Regions from separate parts of the Homo sapiens genome. Here regions 1, 3 and 4 are each linked to region 2. Evidence: promoter capture Hi-C in human tissues and cell types (Jung and others, 2019). All regions are on one chromosome and are shown on one strand. The core of a region is centred on a gene start or on the middle of the fragment in contact, and the rest is flanking DNA. Distances in the headings are between cores, read along the strand shown.

Region 1 (3,450 bases), core at 860-3,359, 360 kb before region 2:
TTACACCAAGTGGGGCCTGGGGCCCTTGGAGTCCAGCTTGGGATAACAAGAAAGCAGTGAGAGTCAGTTGTTTTGTTCCCTAAAGCGGTTCTAGGTTTGAAAAGGTTTGAAATTAATCCTCTAGGAAGGTAATTAGCTTTCAAACAACATAACACTTCAAAAAAATCAATGCAAAATATAAGACAAAAGGTCGCTGTTTAAAGTAGTTGAGTTCTAGATCTGACAGTATTGTGGCTCTCTTGGTTGTAAATTAGCTCACGGAGATAAAATGTCTGAGTTTAGGACTTCAGATCCTGCCTTTGCTGTCAGATTGCCTCAAGCTGTCTCTGGTAGGAAAGTCTAGAAACATGGATTCATTATATACCCCCCCACTTTCTGACATGCTCCAAATCTGTTAGTGTCTGTAACAGAGCTCTGCATTGCATTGATTTGTCTTACTGTGTGAGGAAATTATGGGAATAACTCCCATGTGTCAGCAACCATTTAGTCAGCACACAGTTCCTTACCAGGGAAAATGGCAAGATTTATTAGGGAAAGTATCTGTCATCCCATATAAATAGATGCACAGTTAAAGCATATGTAGCAGGCAGGGTGTATGTTTCTGTGTGACTGATCATAAGGAACTTATTATCAGGAACGCTGTAGAAAAATCAGTCATTTGGGAAGGTGGCAAGCATAAGGGTACACTTATACTTCATGCAAAATGTCCCTCAAAATTGTAATTTTGGCTTTAAGTGCATTGTTGCGGTAGGAATCATTTTTATTAAAAATATATTTTTGCTTTAATTTTTTTACTATTGAGAAAATATATGCAAGTGATAAAACAGGCAAATAATAGAAAAAGGATGTAAAGGTCTTTTTCCTCTGCTTATGCCAGTCTCCTGTGTCCCTCTCCCTCAGAGGCCATCACTGTTGCCAATTTATTTTGTGTCATTAGGAAGTCTGCACAAACAAGCTCATCCTCTTCTTCAGCATTACACACATGGTAGTCCACACCCCACACTCTTCTGAAGTAGTTCTGGAAATCATTTCTTATTAGTCTGCAGTATGATCCAGGCTTATTGTTTTTCATAGATTTAACCAATGTTGACATCTTGCCTGACTTTAGAGTTTTTTGCTTGTTTGTTTTAACATTACAGATACATTTTAACCATAGCACCCACTGCCCAATTCCATTGCTCTCTGCCCAGAGATAATCACTATCCTGAAATTAGCATGTATCCTTCCTTCCTGGTTCTTACATATTTTGCACATACATAGTTGATATTTCATTGTGTGACTTTGGCACCATTTATTGATCCACCATTCTTTTTTTTCCCTTTTTCTTTCTTTTTTTTTTTTTTTTTGGAGACAAGGTCTCATTCTGTCACCCAGGCTGCAGTGCAGTGTTGTGATCTCAGGTCCCTGCAGCCTCAATCTCCCCAGGCTCAGGTAATCCTCCCACCTCAGCCTTCTGAGTAGCTGAGACTACAGGCATGAGCCACCATGCCGGGCTAATTTTTGTATTTTTTGTGGAGGCAAAGTTTTACCATGTTGCCCAGGCCAGTCTTGAACTCTGGGGCTCAAGAGGTCCGCCTGCCCACATTGGTCTCCCAAGGTGCTGGGATAAAGGTATGAGCCACTGAGCCCTGTCCACAATTATATTTTTGAACATTTAGGTTGGTTCCAATGTTTTGCTATTAAAAACGGTGCTACAAAAAACAATGTATTTCATTTCTCCTTGGGCATATGCGTGAGAATTTTTTAGGATACATACCCACAGGCAGAATTGCTAGGTCATAGGTTAGCATGTGCTCATCAACTTTGTTTGATATTGCAACATTGTCCTCCAATGTGATTTTCTACAATACACATTCACACCAGCCATATTTACAAGTTCTTTTTTTCTTTTTCTTCCACATCCTTACCAACACTTGGGCTTCTCAGACTTCTAAATTTTGCCCTTCTGATGGATGTGAAATAGTACTTCATTGTGGTTTTAATTTGCATTTATTACTGAAGTTGAGTATCTTTTATGTTTTTTGGCTGTTTAGTTTCCTTCTAACAATTAACTGTTGATATCATCGACAAATTTTCTACTGTATTGCTTGCTTTTTTCTTATTCATTTATAGAGATTTAAAAATACTCTTGATGCTAATACCCAGTAATATATACTATAATTAACTTCTCCAATGGCTTGCATTTTCACTGTGTCTGGCGTCTTTTGTTTCATAGAATTTTAATATTTAAATGTATTCAAATGATCACTGTTATCATTTATGCTTTTGTTATTTTATTTAAGAAAACTGAAAATGTAATGAAGACATTCTCCTGTATTTACTTTGTAATTTTAAGATTCCCCCTGTCACCCTACCATACATTTAAGGTTTTTAGCCCATGTAGGATGTATTTTGTTGTGGTATGAAATGGGGATGTAAATTCCTTTTCCCTGTACATAGCCAGTTGTCTTAGGACCACTTAGCTAATGTTTGCCACTCCCTGCTGATATGTAAGAGACTTCTGTTCCATATCAATTTTCCATGTATGTATTTGTCAGTATCTATACCCTTTATTCCATTCTTTTGGCCTATTTTTACTTTTTAATTTTTGAGACAGAGTCTCGCTTTGTTACCCAAGCTGGAGTGCAGTGGCATGATCTCAGCTCACTGCAACCTCTGCCTCCCGAGTTCAAGCAATTCTCATACCTCAGCCTCCAGAGTAGCTGGAATCACAGGCATGCACCACCACACCCACCTAATTTTTGTATTTTTAGTAGAGACGGGGTTTTACCATGTTGGCCAGGCTGGTCTCTAACTTCTAACCTCAAGTGATCCTCCCACCTCGGCCTCTCAAAGTGCTGGGATTACAGGTGTAAGCCACCACGCCAGGCCCTTTCAGCCTATTTTTATATTCCTGTCCCCAAAGCCGCACTTCTTAAAAGAATTATAACCTTGTATAATTAGCCTGGTAGGGCAAATCACCTCTCCTTAGTTTTCTTTTTTGAACATTTCTGTGCTAGTTGAGTGTCTAATCTTCCACACCAACTTTTGGGTTAGATTGTTAAATTCCATGAAGCCTTGTTGGGATTCTGGTTGGAATTACAATGATTCATAGATTCATTATAAATTCACAGGGTGATCTGCCAGATTGACACAATTATCTTTCCATCCCTCAGTGTCTCATCATTTATCCAGTGCATATTTTATGTCGTGTTTTATAATTTTGCCTAAATAGGTCTTGCAGATATTTCTGCCTAGATATCTATTCTAAATGGGAGAGCACACACACACACACACACACACACACACACACACAAATTTTTTCTCCTCTCACACCATATCCTGAACATGTATTCAGAATGCTGAATTTTCCTGTTTGAATTGTTTGTCTACACACTCTCCTGCATTTTTAATGTAAATTATCAGATAGTTTATAAATAAGAACAATTTTTCCCCTTCTTTCTAATTCTT
Region 2 (3,732 bases), core at 686-3,185:
ACTCCGTCTCCACTAAAAATACAAAAATTTGCTTGTAGTCTCAGCTACTTGGGAGGCTGAGGCAGGAGAATCGCTTGAACCTGGGAGGTAGAGGTTGCAGTGAGCCGAGATCATGTCACTGCACTACAGACTGGGCAACATAGCCAGACTTCATCTCAGAAAAAAAACAAAACAAATCCTCATAGACCTGTACAAAACAAAGAGTGAACCCTAATGTCAATTACGAACTTAATCATATTAATATTGGTTCGTCAAGTGTAACAAATGTACTACACTAATATGTAATGCTAAAAATAGGGGAAATTGTATGGGTGCGGTGGGGAGGAGAGGTGAGACGGGGAATTCTCTGTATTCTGTCAATTTTTCTGTAAACCTAAAACTGCTTCGAAAAAGGAGCAAAGTCTATTAAAAATGTAGTAATTGTTAGGATAATTTTTTAAAGGTTAAAATCAGCTAATTGTTACAATTGATTAAATTTGTCTTGGATTTAGGTCAATATTCTGGCCAAAAATCTTTTTCTCAGATTACCTATGAAATTATATGAATCCTTCTACCATATCCAAGGGTATACTGGAAATGAGGAATTATAACTGAAGTTCCCTTTAGAGACGAAAGTCTTCATTTCGAGAAGTAAACAGTAAAAAACATACATGTTTGCTGAAATACTTTGCAATGTCACTATTTCACTATTAGGAATTAACAAATTAAACCCCACACTCTATTGAATGTGTTATACCCTGTTCAACCCTGAACCCATGCCTGTCTCCTGTCTCTTCTATACAGTGCCCAACCCTTTGCGGAGATGGATATGCCAAGAAGAGAAATTTATAGCAGGCTGCCTGCTTTGCTCCATTCCAGATCAATTTACACAGAACACCCAGAGGGCAGGTTTACGCCTTCTCTCCATTTCTCTCAAACAGTGATGGCAATGAGTGGAGTACTAGAGACAACATAGATATGCAACCACGGGATAAATGACCAAAGGACAGAGAGACGAGCGACCTCAGTTGTATGATGGAACCAAGAGAAGTCGCTGATTTTTAGTTGTTTTGATCTGGTTGTAAGGATGGGGTGACAACTTCCAAGCTTTTACACGTCAGCACTGAAACTGCAAGTCCCATTTGTTATTAATCTTTAAGCAGACATATTGCTACAGAAGACGGACTCCAAATTAGAATAACACAAAGTTATACCACTAATCACCTTATACAAATATTTTAGTGTTGACAAGATTTCTCTGAATGTATCATTTCTAAAATCAGTATATCTAATTTCTCTGATCCATTATCATTCTTAAACTTCCCATTTAAAATGGACTTTAGTGTCTAACCTGCCTATGGAATGAACCAGATCAACATCCTGCCATCATGTAACGTGCTCTCTCTTGGTACCTGGACCACATAGCAGAGTAAGATTCATGTGGCTCATAGATTTTAGTCCCAAAATTTACCAGCAGCTTCTGCGGGGGGGGGGGGGGGGCGGGGGGGTGAAGTGAAGGCTGCTGGAAGCTCGTGCTACCCTCAGTGCCTCACAACCCAGCAAAGGGGACAGCGACCTGGACTCCCATTGCTGAGGATTAAACCAGTCATCGTCCCTAGCAGAGACCTGGCTGACTAGGCACTTAGTGTGCGGGATGCTCCATGCGTGGAAATTTCCTTCGGCTCCATGCATTAGGCAGTAGTTTGCGTATTTCTCTGTGCGCAGTCTCCACAGTCCCGAACTTGGCTCCCAAACCCACTGAAACCACAGTTCGGCCGCTGGAGGGAAATCGAGCTTCCCTAGCCCACTGCAAAGTGCTTGGGTCAGGCCACAGTCTGAACTTCCCGCTTTTCTAGTTTAGACCTATAGAAGTAGCCCTCCTGCCCTGGTCCTAAGAAGCTCAATGCCGATTGTATCTTATCGCGTCCAATGGGAGGCCACGTTCTGCGTGGGTCACTTTTGGTCGAGCGGAGGGCGCGCAGCTCCACCGTTGCCAAGACGCCGCGTAAACACCCGAGCGCGCGCAGCCAGGTGCGCTCCTTGGGGCTGCTGGCTGCTGCGTTTGCGGCGGGAGGTGGTGGCCGCGGTCCCACGAGAGGGGGTATTTTTCGTCAGCCAAGATGGTGAGCCAGTTGGGGGACTTGAAACTACTTGTTTATTGTTGATTTAATTCTAGTTTGGCGCTCATCTGCTTCTAAAAAAGGATTTTAAGTGCTTAATCTGGTCATTAATTGGGGAACTTGTATTTGCTTTCGGAGGCTTCAGGTGCTATTAGAAGGGACGCTCGCGGTGGTTTCCAGCTTTTTTGGCACTTTTCGCATAGTGTATTAAATACATCTTTAAATCTGCCCAATAGAACCTCTGAAGAAATAAGTAGATATAAAAGTGTAGGAGAAAGCGAATTGATAAATAGCGGCGAATTGACCTATTACATTTATGTTAGGAAAATCTGACCAGCTTCTGAACAGCACTTTATGGCCCTGTGGTGGTAGTCGTGGTGGTGGTGGTGGTGGGTGGAATGAGGGGAGGAGAAATTCCCTGGTGGTAGTAAAGATCTGGGTCTGTAGGGTGCGATTAATCCTAGCACAGCTATTTATTAGCTGCAGAACCTTGGGTAAAGTTACTTTTCATGTTTCATCTATAAAATAGGTAATAATAACAGTACCTATTTAATCGATATGTGAACATATTTACCACGTTTACTTTTTATTCGGTATACTCCTTTGAATTTAGGAAGGAAGCCAGGCTCTTCGTATCCTTTCTTACTAAGGTTTATATCAATACATTTTTTAAAATTAGATTTTGGAATATCAAAATATGCATCTTTTTTTTTCTTCCATCGTAGGGTTCCAAAAGGAGAAATTTGAGCTGTAGTGAAAGGCATCAGAAATTAGTAGATGAAAACTACTGCAAAAAATTACATGTCCAAGCTCTAAAAAACGTCAACAGTCAAATCAGGAATCAAATGGTGCAGAATGAAAATGATAACCGTGTTCAGCGCAAGCAATTTCTCAGATTATTACAAAATGAACAATTTGAGTTGGATATGGAAGAGGCCATTCAAAAGGTAAGTTTTACTATTCATTGTTACTTTTTTTTTCATTTTGCACCTTGGAAACGATGAAAGTCAGCTGTTAATGCTGGAAATGAGTAGATAAACAACAGCAGCAGGTAAGTGATGCCTGATTGTGCCTCAGCTCGGTGTAATCGTAAAGACCTGGGTTTCTGGAGCCGGCCTGTCTTTGAATCCTACTACTGCTATACCTTAGCTACGGACCCTTGAGTAAGTTGCTTTTACTTTTTTTTTTTTTTGGATGGAGTCTTGCTCTGTCGCCCAGGTTGCAGTGCAGTGGCACGATCTTGGCTCACTGCAACCTCTGCCTCCGGGGTTCAAGCGATTCTTCTGCCTCAGCCTCCTGAATAGCTGGGACTATAGGCGCGCAACACCACGCCTGGCTAATTTTTTAATTTTTAGTAGAGACGGGGTTTCACCATATTGACCAGGCTGATCTCGAACTCCTAACCTCGTGATCCGCCCGCCTCGGCCTCCCAAAGTGCTGGGATTATAGGGGTGAGCCACCGCGCCCAGCCTGCTTTTATTTTTTATGCTTTTTCTATAAAATGGGGAATAAGAATAGTACCTCCTACTTAGGATTGTTTTAATAATGAGTTAATACATGCAAGACTCTTGGAATAGTGCCTGGTACAGAATAAGCACTCAGATTTTTTTTTAACATAAATATGAACTCTGTA
Region 3 (3,714 bases), core at 396-2,895, 480 kb after region 2:
ATAGTAAGAGATCACCCTGGCTGCATGTGCAGGATTTTACCTTTAAAGTGTTAACAAACAAAGGAGGAAGTGTAGTATAATTTATACCAGATTTGCTCTGGTCACTTGAGATTCACAGTAGAGAATAACATGCACTGATCTTTATTGGAGAGCAGTGTGGTGGATGCGGGGACTGGAATTGAGCATCACTTCCCACCTCCTTCCCATGCACCTCCCTGTGATATGGAGGTGGGAAAACTAAACACTGTTTCCCACACTCCATTGAAATTAATGGACTGGATCCAAAGTAGGCTCCCCAGTTAAGTGCACTTACTTGAGATTTGCAGAGTGGAAATGAGGTGGAGCATATTGTTTTGTTTCTTTGGCTTTTTCTGCTGATAAGCACAGTCATGTAAACATCTAAATTTTCTGCGAAAGTATTCCAGTATCTGGTAACTTGCTTTGTACATATTGATAGGAAGTCACCGAAGTAGTGGTGGTAGTGGCTTCCAGACGTCAAGATTGATTATATTCTTGAAGTCATCAGTTCTGGTGATGACTCCTGATCATCTACCTTTCTGACTGGGAGAGGTAGTAGCTTCCTGGATGGGTCAGTTCTGCCATGTTTCTGATCTTCTAGAACTGCAGTCCCCAACTGTTTTGGCACCAGGGACCGGTTTCATGGAAGATAGTTTTTCCATGGACCGGGGATGCGGTCCAGTGGTTTCAGGATGATTCAAGCACATTACATGTATGGTGCACTCTACTTCTATTATGATTACATTGTGATATGTAATGAAGTAATTATACAGCTCACCGTAATGTAGAATTAGTGGGAGCCCTGAGCTTGTTTTCCTGCAACTAGATGGTCCCAAGTGTGGGTGACGGTAATGGGAGACAGGGAGACAGTGACAAATCATCAGGCATTAGATTCTTATAAGGGGTACACAACCTAGATCGCTTGCATGGACAGTTCACAATAGGGTTCATGCTCTTATGAGAATCTAATGCCGCTGCTGATCTGACAGGCAGCAGAGCTCCGGAGGTAATGTGATCGGTGAGGAGTGGCTGTAAATACAGATGAAGCTTTGCTCACTGGCCTGCCACTCACCTCCTGCTGTGTGGCTGGTTCCTAAGGTTGGGGACCCCTGCTCTAGAAGTCCAGCCTAGCACCTACTCTTCCAGCTCTTCCAAAAATTTTGTAAGCATCTAATCCCCTGTATTAGCTTCTTTCTTCTTAAAGCATCTAGAATGATTTCTGTTTCCTATAAGAAAGGCTGACTGAAGCAAGGAAAAGAAGGAAGGAAATAAAGAGGAAAGAGTTCAGAGTCTCCGCTATCGGTATGGAGAGTGCAGTTTGCACATACAGAATAATAGATGCCCCTGGTGGCAGCAGCCACAACAGTGCATAAGTAGCAGGGTAAGAAGGGCATATTCTGATACTTCTGGACCCACTAAGGCTGAGCAGAAACTGACCCTTACTCAGTCTGGGAACAAACTTCCCAAACCTTTATGTACTACACACAAAGGAGGAGAAGCATAGGTTAAGCAGCAGCTGTATTAGTAATTTCTCCCAATCTTTCATGTATTGTTTTTGCCATTAGTGCTTTTTTGCAACTCTTTAATTCCAGGATCATTGTAAAGTATTTTTCATGGAGCAGGGACTAAAGAAGTGAATAAATATAGTGTATTTTTAAAATAATTTATTTTTAAATTATGTATTTACTTTTGAGACGGAGTCTTGCTCTGTCACACAGGCTGGAGTGCAATGGCGTGATCTCAGCTCACTGCACCCTCTGCCTACCAGGTTCCAGCGATTTTCCTGCATCACCCTCCAGGGTAGCTGGGATTATAGGCACGCACCACCACGCCCAGCTAATTTTTGTATTTTTGGTAGAGATGGGGTTTTACCATGTTGGCCAGGCTGGTCTCGAACTCCTGACCTCAGATGATCCGCCTGCCTCGGCCTTCCAAAGTGCTGGGATTATAGGCGTGAGGCACCGCGCCCGTCCTATTTTAAAATTATTTTAAACCATCAGAAAAGTTGAAAGTACAACACAAAGAGCTCCAGTATTCTTCTCATACAGATTCTGCAACTGTTAACCTTTTCACTGCAATTGTTCCATCACCTTTTTTTGCCATTTTCATTAATCTTTTTCTGAACCACTTGAGAGCAAGCTGCAGACACAATGCCCCATCATCTTTAAATACTCTAGTGTGTATTTTTCTAAAACAAGAATACTTTCCTGCATAACAACCATACCCCCTTCCAAGCTAGGAAATGGACACTGATACAACAATGCCATTCAATCCACAGATACCATCCAAATTTTGATAAATGTTACTAATAATTTCTCTTTTTCCTTTTCTGGTCTAAGAACCTATCTGGGAACATATATTGCTTTTACGTGGCATGTCTTTGCAGTCTCTTCTAATCTGTAACATTTCCTCAGTTTTTCTTTTTTTTTTTTTTTTTTTAATTTTTTTTTTTATTATACTCTAAGTTTTAGTGTACATGTGCACATTGCGCAGGTTAGTTACATATGTATACATGTGCCATGCTGGTGTGCTGCACCCACTAACGTGTCATCTAGCATTAGGTATATCTCCCAATGCTATCCCTCCCCCCTCCCCCGACCCCACCACAGTCCCCAGAGTGTGATATTCCCCTTCCTGTGTCCAAGTGATCTCATTGTTCAATTCCCACCTATGAGTGAGAATATGCGGTGTTTGGTTTTTTGTTCTTGCGATAGTTTACTGAGAATGATGGTTTCCAATTTCATCCATGTCCCTACAAAGGACATGAACTCATCATTTTTTATGGCTGCATAGTATTCCATGGTGTATATGTGCCACATTTTCTTAATCCAGTCTATCATTGTTGGACATTTGGGTTGGTTCCAAGTCTTTGCTATTGTGAATAGTGCCGCAATAAACATACGTGTGCAATGACTTTCTTCACAGAATTGGAAAAAACTACTTTAAAGTTCATATGGAACCAAAAAAGAGCCCGCATCGCCAAGTCAATCCTAAGCCAAAAGAACAAAGCTGGAGGCATCACACTACCTGACTTCAAACTATACTACAAGGCTACAGTAACCAAAACAGCATGGTACTGGTACCAAAACAGAGATATAGATCAATGGAACAGAACAGAGCCCTCAGAAATAATGCCACATATCTACAACTATCTGATCTTTGACAAACCTGAGAAAAACAAGCAATGGGGAAAGGATTCCCTATTTAATAAATGGTGCTGGGAAAACTGGCTAGCCATATGTAGAAAGCTGAAACTGGATCCCTTCCTTACACCTTATACAAAAATCAATTCAAGATGGATTAAAGATTTAAACGTTAGACCTAAAACCATAAAAACCCTAGAAGAAAACCTAGGCATTACCATTCAGGACATAGGCGTGGGCAAGGACTTCATGTCCAAAACACCAAAAGCAATGGCAACAAAAGCCAAAATTGACAAATGGGATCTAATTAAACTAAAGAGCTTCTGCACAGCAAAAGAAACTACCATCAGAGTGAACAGGCAACCTACAACATGGGAGAAAATTTTCGCAACCTACTCATCTGACAAAGGGCTAATATCCAGAATCTACAATGAACTCAAACAAATTTACAAGAAAAAAACAAACAACCCCATCAAAAAGTGGGCGAAGGACATGAACAGACACTTCTCAAAAGAAGACATTTATGCAGCCAAAAAACACATGAAGAAATGCT
Region 4 (3,542 bases), core at 301-2,800, 270 kb after region 2:
CCTGCCTCAGCCTCCCGAGTAGCTGGGATTACAGGCATGCACCACCACACCCAGCTAATTTTTGTATTTTTAGTAGAGACAGGGTTTTACCATGTTGGCTAGGATGGTCTCGATCTCCTGACCTCGTGATCCGCCCACCTCGGCCTCCCAAAGTGCTGGGATTACAGCACTTTTACGACTTTTTCTTAATGTAACATTAGATACTAAGCTGCATGGTTTGTAACTTCCTCTGAAACTATGCAGTAGGAGAAGAAGAGTTGTTTTCCCCACTGTGCAATCCAGTGATGTTATCTTGCCCTGTGTTTTAGCTTCTTTTTAAATGTTTTATATGTTATAAAAACTTAAACAATAACAAAAAGTTTTAAAAGCTTTTTAAATGTTTGAAAAGAAAGTAAAGGCTTAAAATCTCATCTCCCAGAGAGAACAGTCATCCTTACAGATGGGTCGCTGTGCATGTAGCTATCTCATGTTTTCATTTCATTATTTTTATGGAGATTGTTTCCTGTTCTGTAGACTAGGTAAATTTGCCTGTATTTGGAACCTGCACCTACCTCTGAAGGTTCAGCACTAGAGGGCACTGACCTTTAATTCAGCTTATTTACTGACAATATATAATGTTTCTATGACAGAGGAAGTTCCAAAATGGTAAGACTGGGGCACAAAATATTCTTCTTGATTAAAATCCCAGTGTAAAGTGGAGGCATTATTATCAGACATAATCATAGCATTTTTAACTGGATAATGGAGCCAAATAAAAATCAGTGTGTGACCTTGTACAAGTCATTTTTTATCCTAATTTGTAAATGAAAGGGTTAGACTAGATTTAGTTTTAATGTAGCATTTATTAAGAACCTATTACATGCTTGTTATTACAATATGGCTTTTTATGTAAATGTTGAATCTTTATTTTAAAAACTCGAGATGTAGTATGCCTCGGGAAAAATGATTCTTCTAAGTCAAGGGCATATAGCTAGTAGTTGCAGAATTGGAATTCTTCCTGTCAAGACCATGTTTTTGGTTCCTGCTATATTTACCATGGTGTTTCTTACTAAATAAATTTATTTGAAGATCTTCTTAACTTTAAGGAGTATATTATATGTGCAAATGCTTTCCTGTTATTTGACATATTTGAATCCTGTTGACTCTTTGAGCTTTTAATATTAATATCAACCTGAAAATGCTTGCATTAAAGAAAACAGGGAAGGCATATAGATTGAGGCTAAAGAGAGCAGCACAATTTGTTCAGTACTCTGCCTCCCCAAAATACATATTTTTACAATCCTGTTAGAGCAAATTAGCTATTTTTAAATATTACAATGGTAAAATTCAGCATTTGGAGCAACCAGCAATCACGTAAGGAAAGATACCTATACGTGGAAGGACAGCAAAAAAGGAAAATAACTCATTAGAAAGCAAAAATGAGTCATTATATCCTACACTTTCAAATAATATTCTTTCAGTATCACTCAGTGGTAACTTAAGTAAATACTGATTAACAGTCACTCAGTAGACTGGTTATAGTGGTTGAATCTTTGATTTACAGCCTTCTCTTGTAAATTTTAAGTTTTTCACAGTTTAAATCAACATCAGAAGGTTTTTAGGTGTCAGACTGCAGTCTCTTAGCTGTAGGTCCTACATGGTTTATTTGCTTTTCCTTTTAAAAGGATCTGCTAAGTCCTTCCTCTCTTTTAACTTTTTTTTTTTTCTTTGTCAGAGATGGGGTCTTGCTATGTTGAACAGGCTGGTCTTGAACTCCTGGCCTCAAGTGATCCTTCCATCTTGGCCTCCCAAAGTGCTGGGTTACAGGCCTGAGCCACCACACCCAGTCCCCTCTTTTAACTTTTCATTGTAAAAAATTTCGAATGTATACAAAAGGAGAGAAAAGACAATGAACTCTCAGGTCTTTATTATTCAACTTTAACAATTAGTTTCATAGCTAATCTTATTTATCTGTAAGTCTTCATTGGTTATTTTGAAGGGAATCCCAGACATCATATCACATTTACAGTTTGTTTGAATCAGTGTCCTTATGGCTACTGGTGGATATCTCTCAAACTGTAGATCCCTTTAAAAAATTTTTTCTTGAAGTTTTTTATTTGTTGAAGAAATTGGATCCTTTGTCCTATGGAGTTTCCCACAGTCTGGATTTGCTGATTTTATCTTCATGGTGCTATGTAGCATATTCCTCTTCCCCTTTATTACTATAAATTGGTAGTTAAATAGAGATATGTTTCAATATTTCAGCAAGAATACTTTGTAGGTGGTGTTGCGTACTTACATTGGGAGGCTGAGTCCCTTTTACTCTAATGGAACATATTTCCTTGACTATACTGAACTAGACATACGTTGCTCTAGGGAGAGATGTTTTTCTTTTGAGGGCGTCTGAGGCAAAAGTCATTCTAGGTCCCATTCTTTTTTTTCTTTTTTATACTGCCTCCACTACAGCATTCCACCTTTGAACTTCAGGTTAGGGATTGTTGGGAAGAGGCTATTACCCACCTGTTGTATGCTCCTAAATTATTTAGTTAAGAATGTAGAAACCAAGTGACTATTCTGAATAGCAGCAAATACAGTATATCTAAAAAAGTTTTTCCCATCTCTTTAGGTTTCCTGTGGTACATATAGCCACCGTCCCTACGAGAAAGGTTCAGCTAGCATTGCTGTATCAAGTTCTGAATATATCATTGCCTTTTTGTACCTAGGCTTTCTTGAACATTCTGCAAAGACTTAATAAATGATATTTATAACATCACAATTTTCTGGATTTTGAACTAATTCAGCACTAGCAAGACCATATTCTCATCCTGGGGGAGAGAAAGCAGAGTCAGTGCCCAGATGCACTTAAGTGGTATATTTACCTCTAGCATTCCAGAATCCTGGAAAGCCCATCTTCCTGCAGTCCACCCCTTGAATCTGTTTTAATACCCTTTGACTTCTGTGGTTCAAATATATAGTTTGTATCAAAGACCATGATCCAAATACTTTTTTTCCACACTCCTATCCCTACTTTGCTTCCCTTTCTCTCCCTTCTCTTTCTTCCATCCTTCCTTTTATTGGTCACATGTTTATAATTGCCTAACGTGTACCAGGCAAAGTGCTAGACTTAGGAAGCAGGTTAACAAGACATAGGCCTTGTGTGCAAGGGAAGGGATGGCCCACTGGGACATTTCATTATCTATATGAAAAAAAAACTATCACATCACACATGGAATCCAGAAAAACTCAGCCCCCAAATGTGAAAAGCAAAAGTTTAGAAGAAAATAAAATAACTTTGGGAGCTCACGGTAAGGAAGATTTTTAAAAACATGTCAAAAGCACTTTTCATAAAGAAAAATATTTGACTATATTAAAATAAAAATTTTCCTTGGACAATGAACACTGTTTAAAAAAAGCAACATGCCGCTGATGGCGATGTAACTCAAGTAGTTGACAAAAGATTAGTATCTAAAGTATAAAAAGAGCTTCTATTAGTAAATAAAATAATAAAAACCACCATGCAGAAAAAGGGGTAAAGGATATGAGTAGGCAATTCACAGAAGAAA

The links. Contacts are between HindIII fragments. The study calls those that stand out against the background at their distance.
Region 1: a fragment that was not itself captured here is called in contact with the fragment with the promoter of MNS1 in region 2 in 2 of the 25 tissues and cell types used here (lymphoblastoid cells and mesendoderm cells).
Region 3: a fragment that was not itself captured here is called in contact with the fragment with the promoter of MNS1 in region 2 in 1 of the 25 tissues and cell types used here (lymphoblastoid cells).
Region 4: a fragment that was not itself captured here is called in contact with the fragment with the promoter of MNS1 in region 2 in 1 of the 25 tissues and cell types used here (dorsolateral prefrontal cortex).

The regions. Positions count from the first base shown.
Region 1 is chr15:56,828,717-56,832,166 of GRCh38, reverse strand. No RefSeq gene overlaps it. Among named protein-coding and RNA genes, the nearest start is that of LINC03065, 57 kb to the left of the region's middle. The HindIII fragment of the contact is 8,071 bases long and covers 1-3,450 here.
Region 2 is chr15:56,463,340-56,467,071 of GRCh38, reverse strand. MNS1 (meiosis specific nuclear structural 1) reads left to right here and starts at 1,935. Exons shown (of 10, transcript NM_018365.4): 1 at 1,935-2,102; 2 at 2,825-3,046. The coding sequence starts at 2,100. RefSeq lists a silencer at 1,756-2,005. The HindIII fragment of the contact is 6,259 bases long and covers 1-3,732 here.
Region 3 is chr15:55,987,231-55,990,944 of GRCh38, reverse strand. All of the region lies in intron 1 of NEDD4 (NEDD4 E3 ubiquitin protein ligase), which reads left to right. Among named protein-coding and RNA genes, the nearest start is that of NEDD4, 4.5 kb to the left of the region's middle. The HindIII fragment of the contact is 4,583 bases long and covers 1-3,714 here.
Region 4 is chr15:56,197,166-56,200,707 of GRCh38, reverse strand. The region is part of intron 2 of RFX7 (regulatory factor X7); the gene reads left to right. Among named protein-coding and RNA genes, the nearest start is that of RFX7, 45 kb to the left of the region's middle. The HindIII fragment of the contact is 4,144 bases long and covers 1-3,542 here.